4 separate regions of the Homo sapiens genome follow, and all the other regions are linked to region 4. Evidence: promoter capture Hi-C in 16 types of primary human blood cells and fetal thymus (Javierre and others, 2016). All regions are on one chromosome and are shown on one strand. The core of a region is centred on a gene start or on the middle of the fragment in contact, and the rest is flanking DNA. Distances in the headings are between cores, read along the strand shown. Region 1 has its middle 28 kb from the start of PLXNB1. Region 2 overlaps ARIH2 (ariadne RBR E3 ubiquitin protein ligase 2). Region 3 overlaps ZNF589 (zinc finger protein 589). Region 4 holds the start of NCKIPSD (NCK interacting protein with SH3 domain).

What was found. The method cuts DNA at HindIII sites, captures the fragments that hold promoters and counts their contacts. A CHiCAGO score of 5 or more calls a contact.
Region 1: a contact is called between a fragment that was not itself captured here and the fragment with the promoter of NCKIPSD in region 4, in 1 of 17 cell types (neutrophils). The highest score is 8.6, in neutrophils.
Region 2: a fragment that was not itself captured here is called in contact with the fragment with the promoter of NCKIPSD in region 4 in 4 of 17 cell types (M2 macrophages, naive CD8 T cells, megakaryocytes and 1 more); the score reaches 5.9 in M2 macrophages.
Region 3: a contact is called between a fragment that was not itself captured here and the fragment with the promoter of NCKIPSD in region 4, in 1 of 17 cell types (neutrophils). The highest score is 5.3, in neutrophils.

Annotation. Positions count from the first base shown.
Region 1 is chr3:48,400,195-48,403,180 of GRCh38, reverse strand. No RefSeq gene overlaps it. Among named protein-coding and RNA genes, the nearest start is that of PLXNB1, 28 kb to the left of the region's middle. The HindIII fragment of the contact is 4,211 bases long and covers 1-2,986 here.
Region 2 is chr3:48,948,434-48,951,474 of GRCh38, reverse strand. The region is part of intron 3 of ARIH2 (ariadne RBR E3 ubiquitin protein ligase 2); the gene reads right to left. Among named protein-coding and RNA genes, the nearest start is that of ARIH2OS, 31 kb to the right of the region's middle. The HindIII fragment of the contact is 479 bases long and covers 1,095-1,573 here.
Region 3 is chr3:48,269,096-48,271,939 of GRCh38, reverse strand. ZNF589 (zinc finger protein 589) reads right to left here. Exons shown (of 4, transcript NM_016089.3): 4 at 950-2,844. Among named protein-coding and RNA genes, the nearest start is that of ZNF589, 29 kb to the right of the region's middle. The HindIII fragment of the contact is 1,591 bases long and covers 663-2,253 here.
Region 4 is chr3:48,684,480-48,687,248 of GRCh38, reverse strand. NCKIPSD (NCK interacting protein with SH3 domain) reads left to right here and starts at 1,334. Exons shown (of 13, transcript NM_016453.4): 1 at 1,334-1,612. The coding sequence starts at 1,442. RefSeq lists enhancers at 827-896, 491-1,222 and silencers at 1,419-1,713, 1,107-1,826. The HindIII fragment of the contact is 7,513 bases long and covers 1-2,221 here.

The DNA.
Region 1 (2,986 bases), core at 372-2,871, 280 kb after region 4:
ATGAGAGGAAGGCCCTTCAGCCTTGAGGCCTTCAGAGGGATCATCCCTTTGGCCCTCTGCTTATCCTCCATAACCCAGTGACCCTTAGCATTTCCTCTCGTCTGGCACAGAGACCACAACCTCCCCTCGAGGTCTTCATTGAGTGTTTAGAGAGAGACAGACTGATAGAATTCCAGGAGGACTCCTATCCCCTGCCTTTTTTTGGCCCTAAATAAAGCCATCCACTGTAGGGTTGCCCCTACAATCCACAAAGTCCTTGTCCCTAAGGAGCCATGTTGGTCTTGTCTGTGCCGGGGGTAGTCATAGCTGCTATTCTTCGCTGTGGCTCCATTGTCCCTTCTTTCCCATTTCTGCCGGATGTGGGGACCACAGTCAGGTCAGCAGCCAGGTGCCATCATTTGGGAGCATGTGAGCTTGGATGCTCTGGCCAGGTTTTCATAGCCACCCAGAATGGTCCTGACTTTTCCCGTTGGAGACCATGGAATGGGTCTCCATCTTGACCATCTCTGGGAGCAGGGTGGATGGGAAATCCACTTGAGGGTGGACTTCAAGCAGACACAGAGGGAAGCAGCCTTGGTCAGCACCACAGACCTCGACAGAGCCATGCCTCTGTTCCAGAGGCCTCTCTGTTCCAGGTTCAGGCCCCTGCAGGTTTTAGGGGTAGGTGAAGGCTCCCGGGAGAGGGGGGCCATGTGCCTGCAAGCCTGGGCACGTGCCCGCGGGAGGGGTGAGTACTGAACGTGCTTTGAGTCACTCACTGAGTCATGGCTCAGCCGCCACAGAACATTGTTATAATAACAGACATAGAGAAGAAAAACCTGGCACAAGAAGATAGGAAATTCTGTCTTCACTCCAAACCATGACCAAGAATGGAGATTCCAACACCAGCAAGAATTTGTGATCGCTTAACTTGGGTCATGACCACAATTTCAGCATAGAACATTTGTAATTCAGTTTGATCAATCTTTTCCTAATTTTTATTAAGACTGCAACGAAAGTGTGCCCTCATTATTACATTTTTCACAAACCTGTTAGCATACAAAGGGCCTTTGTTTCTCATTACCACCCGGGGCTCCTTAAGGCGTTTTATGGAGTGATGTGCTTTATTAAAAAGCGTTTTCACCAACTTAAAAGTTGGAATAATTGTCCAAATGGTTACATGACCCAGGAGTTCTATATTTTTATTAATTTTCTGATACTGAAATAATCGTGCTAATTAAGATAACAGCTGAATTTATGCTGATGAATGTTGGAATTCTTAGAAGCCACCTGAAACCTTCCAAATGGTCAGGACCTGGATCCCACTGGCCAGTGCCAACAGGTGACTCTGGGTGGTGCTGGGGGATACAGGGAACCTAGCTGTGTTCTGCTTGGCACCAATGGCTGCTGATGCATGTGTTTCCTCCACCAGGTTCCCTAAGGATGCCACATTGAAGAACAAATACACCCCAAACTACCTAGGTCAGCTGACTGGCGATGTTTTATGGATCTCTCTTTAAAAGTGTTCTGTCGGCCAGGCGCAGTGGCTCACCCCTGTAATCCCAACACTTTGGGAGGCCGAGGCAGGCGGATCATCTGAGGTCAGGAGTTTGAGACCAGCCTGCCCAACATGGCAAAACCCCGTCTCTTCTAAAAATACAAAAAATTAGCCAGGTGTGGTGGCGGGCGCCTCTCATCCCAGCTACTCAGGAGGCTGAGACAGGAGAATCGCTTGAACCCGGGAGGCGGAGGTTGCACTGAGTCGAGATCGCGCCACTGCACTCCAGCCTGGGTGACGAGCAAAACTCCATCTCAAAAAAAAAAAAAAAAAAGTGTTCTCTGTCTTAATTAAGGATGATGGTTTATCCAATTCCAAATGTTTACCAAAAATCTAAGATAAGGATATCACCATGATGTTTGAAAGAGAATTTATGCCCTGGTTGTGATGTTGGGGTTTTATTGATAAGAGTTTCAGTTATCTGGATGATATGTGCACGTGTAAGGAAACAGAATGGTTTGCCAGTTGTCCAGGTGGCCATGAAGAGAACCTCTGGAGGTCTAGGAATGTGAAGCTCAGATTTTGGAAACCTGGTCCGGTGTCCTGGGCCACAGGTAAGTGGCTGAAGCTGGTGGTTTGCTGCCATCTTCTGGCCATAGTGTGGAATTTATCAGAAGCAGCTACCAATGAGGGTGTCTGGAGCTCTATAAATTGCAAGCCTGGGCAAGATAGCCAGACCCCATCTTTACGAAAACTGTTTAAAAATTAGCTGGGCATGGTAGCACACATCTGTAGTCTCAGCTATTTAAGAGGTTGAGGTGGGAGGATTGCTGGACTCCAGGAGTTTGAGGCTGCAGTGAAAGATTATGCCACTCCACTCCAGACTGGGTGACAGTGAGACCCTGTCTCTTCAAAAAAAGAGAGAGAGAAATCACAACAGTGGAATTCAGTAGTGCTGGAGCTTAGTGAGTAATCTTACCCTGTCTTTAACGTGAATTCTGGTTTTAGGGTGAGCTATGTCTTAGGACATAGTTGAGATAACAGTGAGTGACTAGTCAAGAAAACAGCCGGGCACAGTGGCTCACACCTGTAATCCCAGCACTTTGGGAGGCCAAGGTGGGTGGATCACTTGAGGTCAGGAGTTCGAGACCACCCTGATCAACATGGTGAAACCCCATCTCTACTGAAAATACAGAAATTAGCCGGGTGTGATTGTGTGCACCTGTGATCCCAGCTACTGGGGAGGCTGAGGAAGGAAAATCACTTGAACCTGGGAGGCAGAGGTTTCAGTGAGCTGAGATTATGCCACCACACTCCAGCCTGAGCTGAGATTATGCCACCACACTCCAGCCTGAGCTGAGATTATGCCACCACACTCCAGCCTGAGCAGCAGAATGAGACTCTGTCTCAAAAAGAAAACAACAACAACAACAACAAAAAACCAGAAACCACTCTAGGTGTTTCCAATGGAAGGAATTTAAATATAAGGGATTGATTATGAAAGTGTGT
Region 2 (3,041 bases), core at 85-2,584, 260 kb before region 4:
CTTCCAAACTCATTTTATGAGGTTAGCATAACCATGATAAAACATAACCAAGAAAAAAAACCCCAATATTCCACAGACATAGACACAAAAATCCTTAATTTAAAAATTTGCCATTGCACTGAAGCCTGGACAAGAGTGAAACTCCACAGGGGGAAAAAAAACACTAATAAATGAATTTATGAATTTACTAAGGTAAAAAAAATACAAAGTTGGCCTGGTACACTGGCTCACGCTTGTAATCCCAGCACTTTCAGAGGCTAAGGCAGGCAAATCACTTGAGCCCAGGAGTTCAAGACCAGCCAAGGCAACATGGCAAAACCCTGTCTCTACAAAAAGTACAAAAAATTAGCTGGGCATGGTGACATGAACCTGTTGTCCCATCTACCTGGGAGGCTGAGGTAGAAGGATCACTTGAACCTGGGAGGTTGAGGTTGCAGTGAACCATGATAGCTCTACTGCACTCCAGCCTGGGTGACAGGGCAAGACACTGTCACAAAATAAAAATTAAAAAAAAAAAAAAAAAGAAGAAGAAAGAAAATACAAAGTCAATATATACAAAAACCAAATGTTAGAATTCAAAGAAAGAGCCATAAAAGTATTTCTATATAGCAGCAAATTGAAAAATTAAGTGGGTGAATTTTAATAATTTATTTTATTTAACCTAATATATCTGAAATTGTATTATTTCAACATGTAACACATAAAAAAGCATTGATAATCTATTTTTATCCTTTGTTTCATTCTAAGTCCAGTCTGTATTTTAGACTTACGGCACATCTCAATTCAAACTGACTGTATTTCAAATGAGCAATGGCCACACATAGCTACCATACCGGGCAGCACAGCTACAGATTTTGAACACAACAATCAAAACCAATCAAAATGAAAATCCCAATCAAAATCACAAGCTTTTTAATAAAATTAATAGTTGATTGCAAAATCTGTAGAAATGTAAAGGATCCAGAATATCCAAAGCAATCTTGAAAGAAAAGAGCAAAGTTGAAAGACTTACACCATCTGACTTCAAGACTTACTATAAAGCTACATACGGTAATCAAGACAGTGGAGATACTGGACTTCATCAAAATTAAGCTTTTACTCAACAGACATCATTTAGAAAATGGAAAAGTAGGAAGCAGAACTAGATGGAGTAAAAAAAGGAAAAAAAGAAAATGGAATAGACAGACCTATAGATCAATAGAACAAAACAGAGTCTAAAAGGAAACTCATACATGTATGGTAAATTTTCAACAAAGGTGCCAATGTAATTCAATGGAGAAAAAAAGTCTTTTCAACAAAGGGTTCTGGAACAACTGAATAATTGTTTATACATAACAAACAAAACACAGAACACAGACCATTACTTCATACCACACAAAAATTAACTCAAAAGAGTTCACATATCTAAATGTAAAACCTAAAACTATAAAATTGCTAAAAGAAAGCACAGAAGAAAATTGTGCCTTAGTTTAGGCAAAGATTTCTAGATATGACACTAAAAGCACAATCCTTAAAAGAAAAATTTTTTAAAAAAAGAAAATAAAGATAAACTGGACTTCATCAAAATTAAGCTTTTACTCTTCAAAAGACACCATTTAGAAAATGGAAAAGTAGGAAGCAGAACTAGATGGAGTAAAAAAAAGATTAAAAAAAAAAGATACAGGTAACAGGATGGGAGAAAATATCTGCAAATCATACATCTGATAAAATAATTCAAACTATGTAAAGAATTCTCTCTTAGAACTCAGTAAGGCACAAAATGCAATTTTTAAAAACAGACAAAGTATTTGAACAGACATTTCACCACAAAAAATAAATGTATGAATAGCAAATAAGCACAAGGAAAGATCATTAATTACATTAGTGGTTAATGACACTAGTCATTAGGGAATGCAAATTAAAACCACAAGGTATTACACACTCACTAGAATGATTATAATCCAGAAGACCTAAAATACCAAGTGCTAACAAGGAAGCAGAGAAACTGGAACCCTTACATAATGCTAGTGGGAATGTAAAGTAGTAGAGCCACTTTGGAAAACAGTTTATTTCTTAAAATGTTAAACACGGCTGGGCACGATGGCTCACACCTGTAATCCCAGGCCAAGGCAGGCGGATCACGAGGTCAGGAGATAGAGACCATCCTGGCTAACACGGTGAAACCCCCGACTCTACTAAAAACACAAAAAACTAGCCGGGCGTCACGGCGGGCGCCTGTAGTCCCAGCTACTCAGGAGGCTGAGGCAGGAGAATGCCATGAACCCAGGAGGTGGAGCTTGCAGTGAGCCGAGATCGTGCCACTGCACTCCAGCCTAGGCAACAGAGCACGACTCCGTCTCAAAAATAAATAAATAAATAAATGTTAAACATACACTTACCATGTGACCCAGCAATCCCACTCCTAGTTATCTATACAAGAGAAATGAAAACACATGGCTATATTAAGCCCTGGCCATGAATGGTCACAGCAGCATACTGCGTAGTAGCCCAAAATTAGAAACAACCCAATGTCCCTCAACTTACAAATGAATGGGTAAACAAAATGTGGCATATCCATACAATGGAAAATCATTATTCAGCAATAAAAGAGAACACACTACTGATGCATGATACAATATGGATGAACCTCAACCATTATGCTAAGAGAAAGAACCAGGTAACAAAAGATTACATATTGTATAATTCAAATTGTATGAAATTTCTAGAAAAGGCAAAACTACTGAGACAGAAGATCAGTAGTCACTTGGGAACAGGGATCAACTATAAATGAACACGGGAATTTTTTAGGTGATGAAATGTTCTAAAACTGGGACTATGGTAATGACTACATAGTTGTATACATTTAATAAAACTCAAATAATGGTACACTTTAAAATGGATGAGTTCGGCCGGGCGCGGTGGCTCACATCTGTAATCCCAGCACTCCTGGGAGGCCGAGGTGGGCGGATCACCTGAGGTTGGGAGTTCCAGACCAGCCTGACCAACATGGAGAAACTCCATCTCTACTAAAAATATAAAATTAGCACTAAAAACACAAAATT
Region 3 (2,844 bases), core at 209-2,708, 420 kb after region 4:
AGGTGTGAGGCACAGGACTAGCAGGCAGCTCCACCCACAGCCCCAGTGCGGGATCCACTAGGGGAAGTCAGCTGGGCTCCTGAGTTGGGTGGGGTCTTGGAGAACTTTTGTCTAGCTGGAGGATTGTATATGCACCAAGCAGCACTCTCTGTCTAGCTCGGGGTTTGTGGATGCACCAATCAGCACTCTGTATCTAACTAACCTGGTGGGGACTTGGAAAACTTTTATGTCTAGCTAGAGGATTGTAAATGCACCAATCAGCACTCTGTGTCTAGCTCAAGGTTTGTAAACGCACCAATCAGTGCTCTGTGTCTAGCTAATCTAGCGGGGACTTGGAGAACTTGTGTCTAGCTAAAGGATTGTAAACGCACCAATCAGCACTGTGTCTAGCTAAAGGTTTGTAAACGCGTGTCTAGCTAATCTAGTGGGGACTTGGAAAATTTTTGTCTAGCTAGAGGCTTGTAAATGCACCAATCAGCACTCTGTGTCTAGCTCAGGGATTGTAAATGCACCAATCAGCACCCTGTCAAAACGGACCAATATGCTCTCTGTAAAATGGACCAATCAGCAGGATGTGGGTGGGGCCGGATAAGGGGATAAAAGCAGGCTACCCGAGCCAGCAGCGGCAAGCCACTCAGGTCCCCTTCCATGCTGTGGAAGCTTTGTTTTTTCACTCTTCACAATAAATCTTCCTGCTGGTCACTCTTTGGGTCCGCGCCGCCTTTAAGAGCTGTAACACTAACCGCAAAGGTCCGCAGCTTCACTCCTGAAACCAGCAAGACCACGAACCCACCGGAAGGAACTAACAACTCCAGATGCGCTGCCTTTAAGAGCCGTAACACTGCTAAGGTCTGCAGCTTCACTCCTAAGCGAGACCACAAACCCACCAGAAGTTAGAAACTCTGGACACGTCCGAACATCAGAAGGAACAAACTCCAGACACACCATGTTTAAGAATTGTAACACTCACCGTGAGGGTCCACGGCTTCATTCTTGAAGTCAGCAAGACCAAGAACCCACCAATTCCAGACACATTAGGGTGGTAGGCCAGGCATGGGGGAGATCCTACATTCCAGGTACCCCTAGCCCTTCCCCTAAGCAGGCTAACCTTGGGGATTCCCTGGAGATCAACCACTTCCAGTGAGAGGGAGTGGACAAAAGCCTCTGGACCAGCCATTCCTTCTCTCTCTCCAAGTCCTTTTTCCTCTCTAGCATCAAAACCAAGCCTAAGTATTTTGAGGTTACATGAACATCTCTCCCCTTCTTTTCTGTGGCAGAGTCCCTTAGCAAATAGAGGCACTGGGGCCTGAGTGGATAGCTCTCCAAGGTACACTCATTGACACAGGGTATCAGGTAGGGCTAGCCCCAGCCCAAGGGAGTAAGGCAAACTGTCAGAACCTGGGCCATATGGGCCCTGGAGTGTGAGGAGAGACAAATGGCTAAAGGCCCTGGCACCATTCCTGGATGTAATTTAGCCACCCGAGCATGGCTAAAACACTGGGTACTGAGATTGGAGGATTTAAGAGGAGCTGTGTTTAAAATACCCTTAAACCTGGTATTGGAAGGCTGATGATGCAGCATTGCTAGATCCCTGTCATTGAAGGCCAAGGTGGCGTGGCTATGTTTAAGTCCTGAGTCTGAAGAACTTTTAGAGTGTGGTTAAAGAATCTTGGATTTGGGACTGGAGGGTTAGGAAGGGGACCTGGTAAAGGTGTCCCTCAGATTGTAGGGCTGGAGACTGAACTCTGAGTAAAATCTAAAGGTGGGGTAGGAGAGGAAACAGCAAAGGCTAGAGATGTAGAAAAAAATAAAGCAGGAGAGTGTCATGGAAGCTAATGGAAGAACACAGTTGCAGAAGGAAGTAGTCAGATGCAAAGACCATTCCTCCAAGGGGACCGTCACTTGACACCTCTGCTCTCAGAAGTTAGATCTCTGTCATCTTCACATCTAAAGGAATGTAAGGGGTCAAAAGACTGTCCCCAAAGCTCTTAGAACAAGAGTGGGGTGGGCGTACAGTGGATAGATTTGACTCCAAGTATCTCTTAAGGGGCCACTTCCAGCCAACACCTTACTCTCACTCCATGAAGGTTTCTCCCGAGTGTGTCCTCTGACACGTGACAAGTAATGATGTCCACGTACAGCTCTGTCCACATTACCTTACAAACAAGGCTTCTCCCTAAGCATTTCCGCTGGTGTGGCTGATGGCTGACTTGTTGCTAAAATCACATCCTCACTCCTTGCACCTCTAAAGCTTTTCCCCGAGTGTATCTTCTGGTGTATGATGAGCTGTGACTTTCTCCTAAAGCTTTGCCCACACTCCACGCATGCATAAGGCTTCTCCCCCGAGTGTATCCTCTGATGTAAGCTGAGAGTGGACTTGTGGCTAAAGTTTCGCCCACACTCGATGCATGCGTAAGGTTTCTCTCCTGTGTGTGTCCTCCAGTGTCTGTTGAGGAGTATCTTCCGGCCAAATCCCCGCCCACATTCCCCACACACATAAGGCTTCTCCCCTGAATGTGTCTGCTCGTGTGCGAGGAGAGTTGATTTATCACAAAAGCCTCGCCCACACTGGCTGCACACATAAGGTTTTTCCTTGGAGTGTGTACTCCGGTGGTAGTGGAGGGTTGACTGAGCTATAAAGCCTCGCCCACACTCTCCGCAGACATAAGGCTTTTCTCCTGTGTGTGTCCTCTGGTGTCTGATGAGCTGTGATTTCGTGATAAAGCCTTGCCCACACTCCGTGCATGCATAAGGCTTCTCCCCAGAGTGTATCCTCTGATGTACACTAAGAGCGGACTTGAGGCTAAAGTTTCGCCCACACTCAAAGCACGTGTAAGGCTTCTC
Region 4 (2,769 bases), core at 85-2,584:
CTGAACCTCACACTAGGCCTATGTACTTTAGGCCTAAAAATAGGCAACTGGGTCAGACAGACACCCATAATCCCAACACTGGGAGGACTGCTTGAGTCCGGGAATTTGAGACTAGCCAGAGCAACATAGCAAGACCTTGTCTCTACTAAAAAAAAAAAAAAAAAAAAAAAAAAAAAAAGCTGAGTGTGGTGGTGCATGCCTGTAGTCCCAGAGACAGTAGGCTTGAGCCTGGAAGATCAAGGCTGCAATGAGCTTGATCATCCCACTGCACTCCAGCCTGGACGACAGAGCAAGACCCTGTCTCAAAAAATAAATACAGATAAAAATAGAAAACTTGCACACACTGGCCTGTACACGCCTCCTGCTTCCTGGGCTCGGGCTTCCTGTGGAGCGTAGCTGGACCATTCTCAGCCACAGTCTCTCCAGGACCCTGAGGGCCTCTTCCCTGGGTCTTCCAGGCACTCTTATTACACGGATTTCATATATCTGGAGATCTGGGCTGACTGGAAAGCTGGGTGGATCAAATAGGCTCTTAAGGCCACCGTGGTACCCCACTCCCTCTTTCAGCCCTCCTCTATGCTCTCAGAAAGGGGCATCGCAAATCTTAAGTCCTATAAAGACAATAAAACACAGCAAGATGATAGCGATTGATGGGGGTGGGAGCTTGACGGACAAATACTATAGGAGAGGGAAGGGAAAATTGTCCCAGGTAGAGGGAACAGAATATGCAAAGGCCCAATATAGAGAAAACCAGCCATAGCTGAAGAGAGAGGAGGAGTAGGGGTGGGGAGCAAAGATGGGAGGGCTTTAGACAGGGAATAGCCCCGCCTGGTTTCTGCTTTTGTGGCCCCCTTCTCCCCACACTTGCTCCCCACTGGCCACCACCGGCACTCGGTGAAGACAGGTGGTGAGGCCTAGACACACCGAGAGCCGGGCCCCGCGGGGGCTTCCAAGTGTCGGATCAGCAAGATCATCCTTTCGAGGTCGCCGTCCTTGCAATTAGTAGATGGGACCCACTGCCCCAGGGCGGTAGGGGCGCACCCGCTACGAGCGGAGCGCGCTTTCACCGGGAGGTAGGACGGGACGCAGCGCTCGGACTTAAGCGGGGAAAGGGAGCAGAGGGCTGGACGGGTGAAACTGAGGCCGGGGTGAGGAGTGAGGGTGCGGTGTCCGGGGATGAGGGGCCTGGAGCCGGGAGGGACCAGAGGAGACAGCGAGCTGTCGACCCCAGCCCCGCCGCACCTCTTGGGGCCGCGCGGGGGCGCTGCTCTCCGATGCGTGGAACGATACAGCCCGGGGCGGGGCTTCGGCGGGCGGGCGCGCGCGCGCCTGCGTAGTGTGTCACGGGGCGGGACAACCGCGGCGCGGCTCGGCGCTCCCGGCCTGGCGTTGTGGCGCCGCAGCCCTTGCCACCTTCCCTGCACCTGCCCTGCCCGGCCTCATGTACCGCGCGCTGTACGCGTTCCGCTCGGCGGAGCCCAACGCGCTGGCGTTCGCCGCGGGCGAGACCTTCCTGGTGCTAGAGCGAAGCAGCGCGCACTGGTGGCTGGCCGCGCGGGCGCGCAGTGGTGAGACGGGCTACGTGCCGCCAGCCTACCTGCGCCGCCTGCAGGTGAGTGCGCCCCTTCCCGCCCGGCCTCCGCGCCCCTGGGGCAGGACCCCTTCACAGCCCCGCGGAACCGACCCAGGGACCCCACCCTCTCCGGGACCCGAGGCCAGGACCTCTATCAGACAGGGAGTTTGAGAACCTGACCCTGAGACCCCCGGACCCACGGGGACTGAGACCCCAAGTGTCAGCATCACCCACAAAAGACCAGGCCCTTGACAGACCAACTCCCGATCGACCAAAAGCCTAACTCTGGGACTGAGACTCCTCAGGACCCCAGACCCTTCAGTATCGAGTCCGCCATCTGAATGGCGACCCTGAGCCCCACCGAATCCTGGCCAATTATTCAAATCCCTGAGACCCCAGATCCTTAATATGCCCCTTCTCTGGATTCCTAGGACCCCACAACCAACCTCCCTCCCTCCCTCCCTCCCTCCCTCCCTCCCTCCCTTCCTTCTTCCCCCAACCCCGCGCCTTGCCCCCCGTTGGAGCCACCACTGAGACCTGGACCACCTTGGACACCACCTGTTTCCCTAGCCATTCTCCAGGTCCTCAACCCCCCAACTTGGACCCTAGAGCCATAGACACCTCCATCCCCTATGTAACACCCAAGCTTTGGTACTTCAGTGTCTTTCACTAGCCTGTGTTCAGCCACCCTCTAAGCTCTTCTTAAGTCTCTACCAACCTTATTTGAACCAAGGACCCATGCCCCTGCTGACACTGTCTGCTCCACTCCCCAACCCTGACTTCTCAAACTTTCTTGCTTTGAAAATGGGTTCCATCCCTACTTGTTCCCAGCCTGGAGTGGGGACTGCTCACATTGTGATGAAGTGAGTTCTTATAGCTTCTCCTGGTCTGATCGTGGCCCCATTTCCTTCCAGTGGAAGCTGCAGTCCCAGTTCCTGTTTCCCTAAGAGTAGCCCTGCTGCGGGGGTTGGGGTGCGTATCTCCAGCTGGTCTATTCTGACCACAGGGGGAAGAAGGGCCCAGAGCTGCCGGGCCTGTGCCAGACACCCCCGCCCCGTCCTAGTCCTTATCCTTTAGGAAACATCCTGTCCCAGCCCAGTTCAGGACAGAAATAACGGGATAAATTTGGAAGTGTCATCTGGTCTTACCAGGAAGGATGGGCCCTGGGGGCCTAGGGGCTTCCTCATAGACCCTTG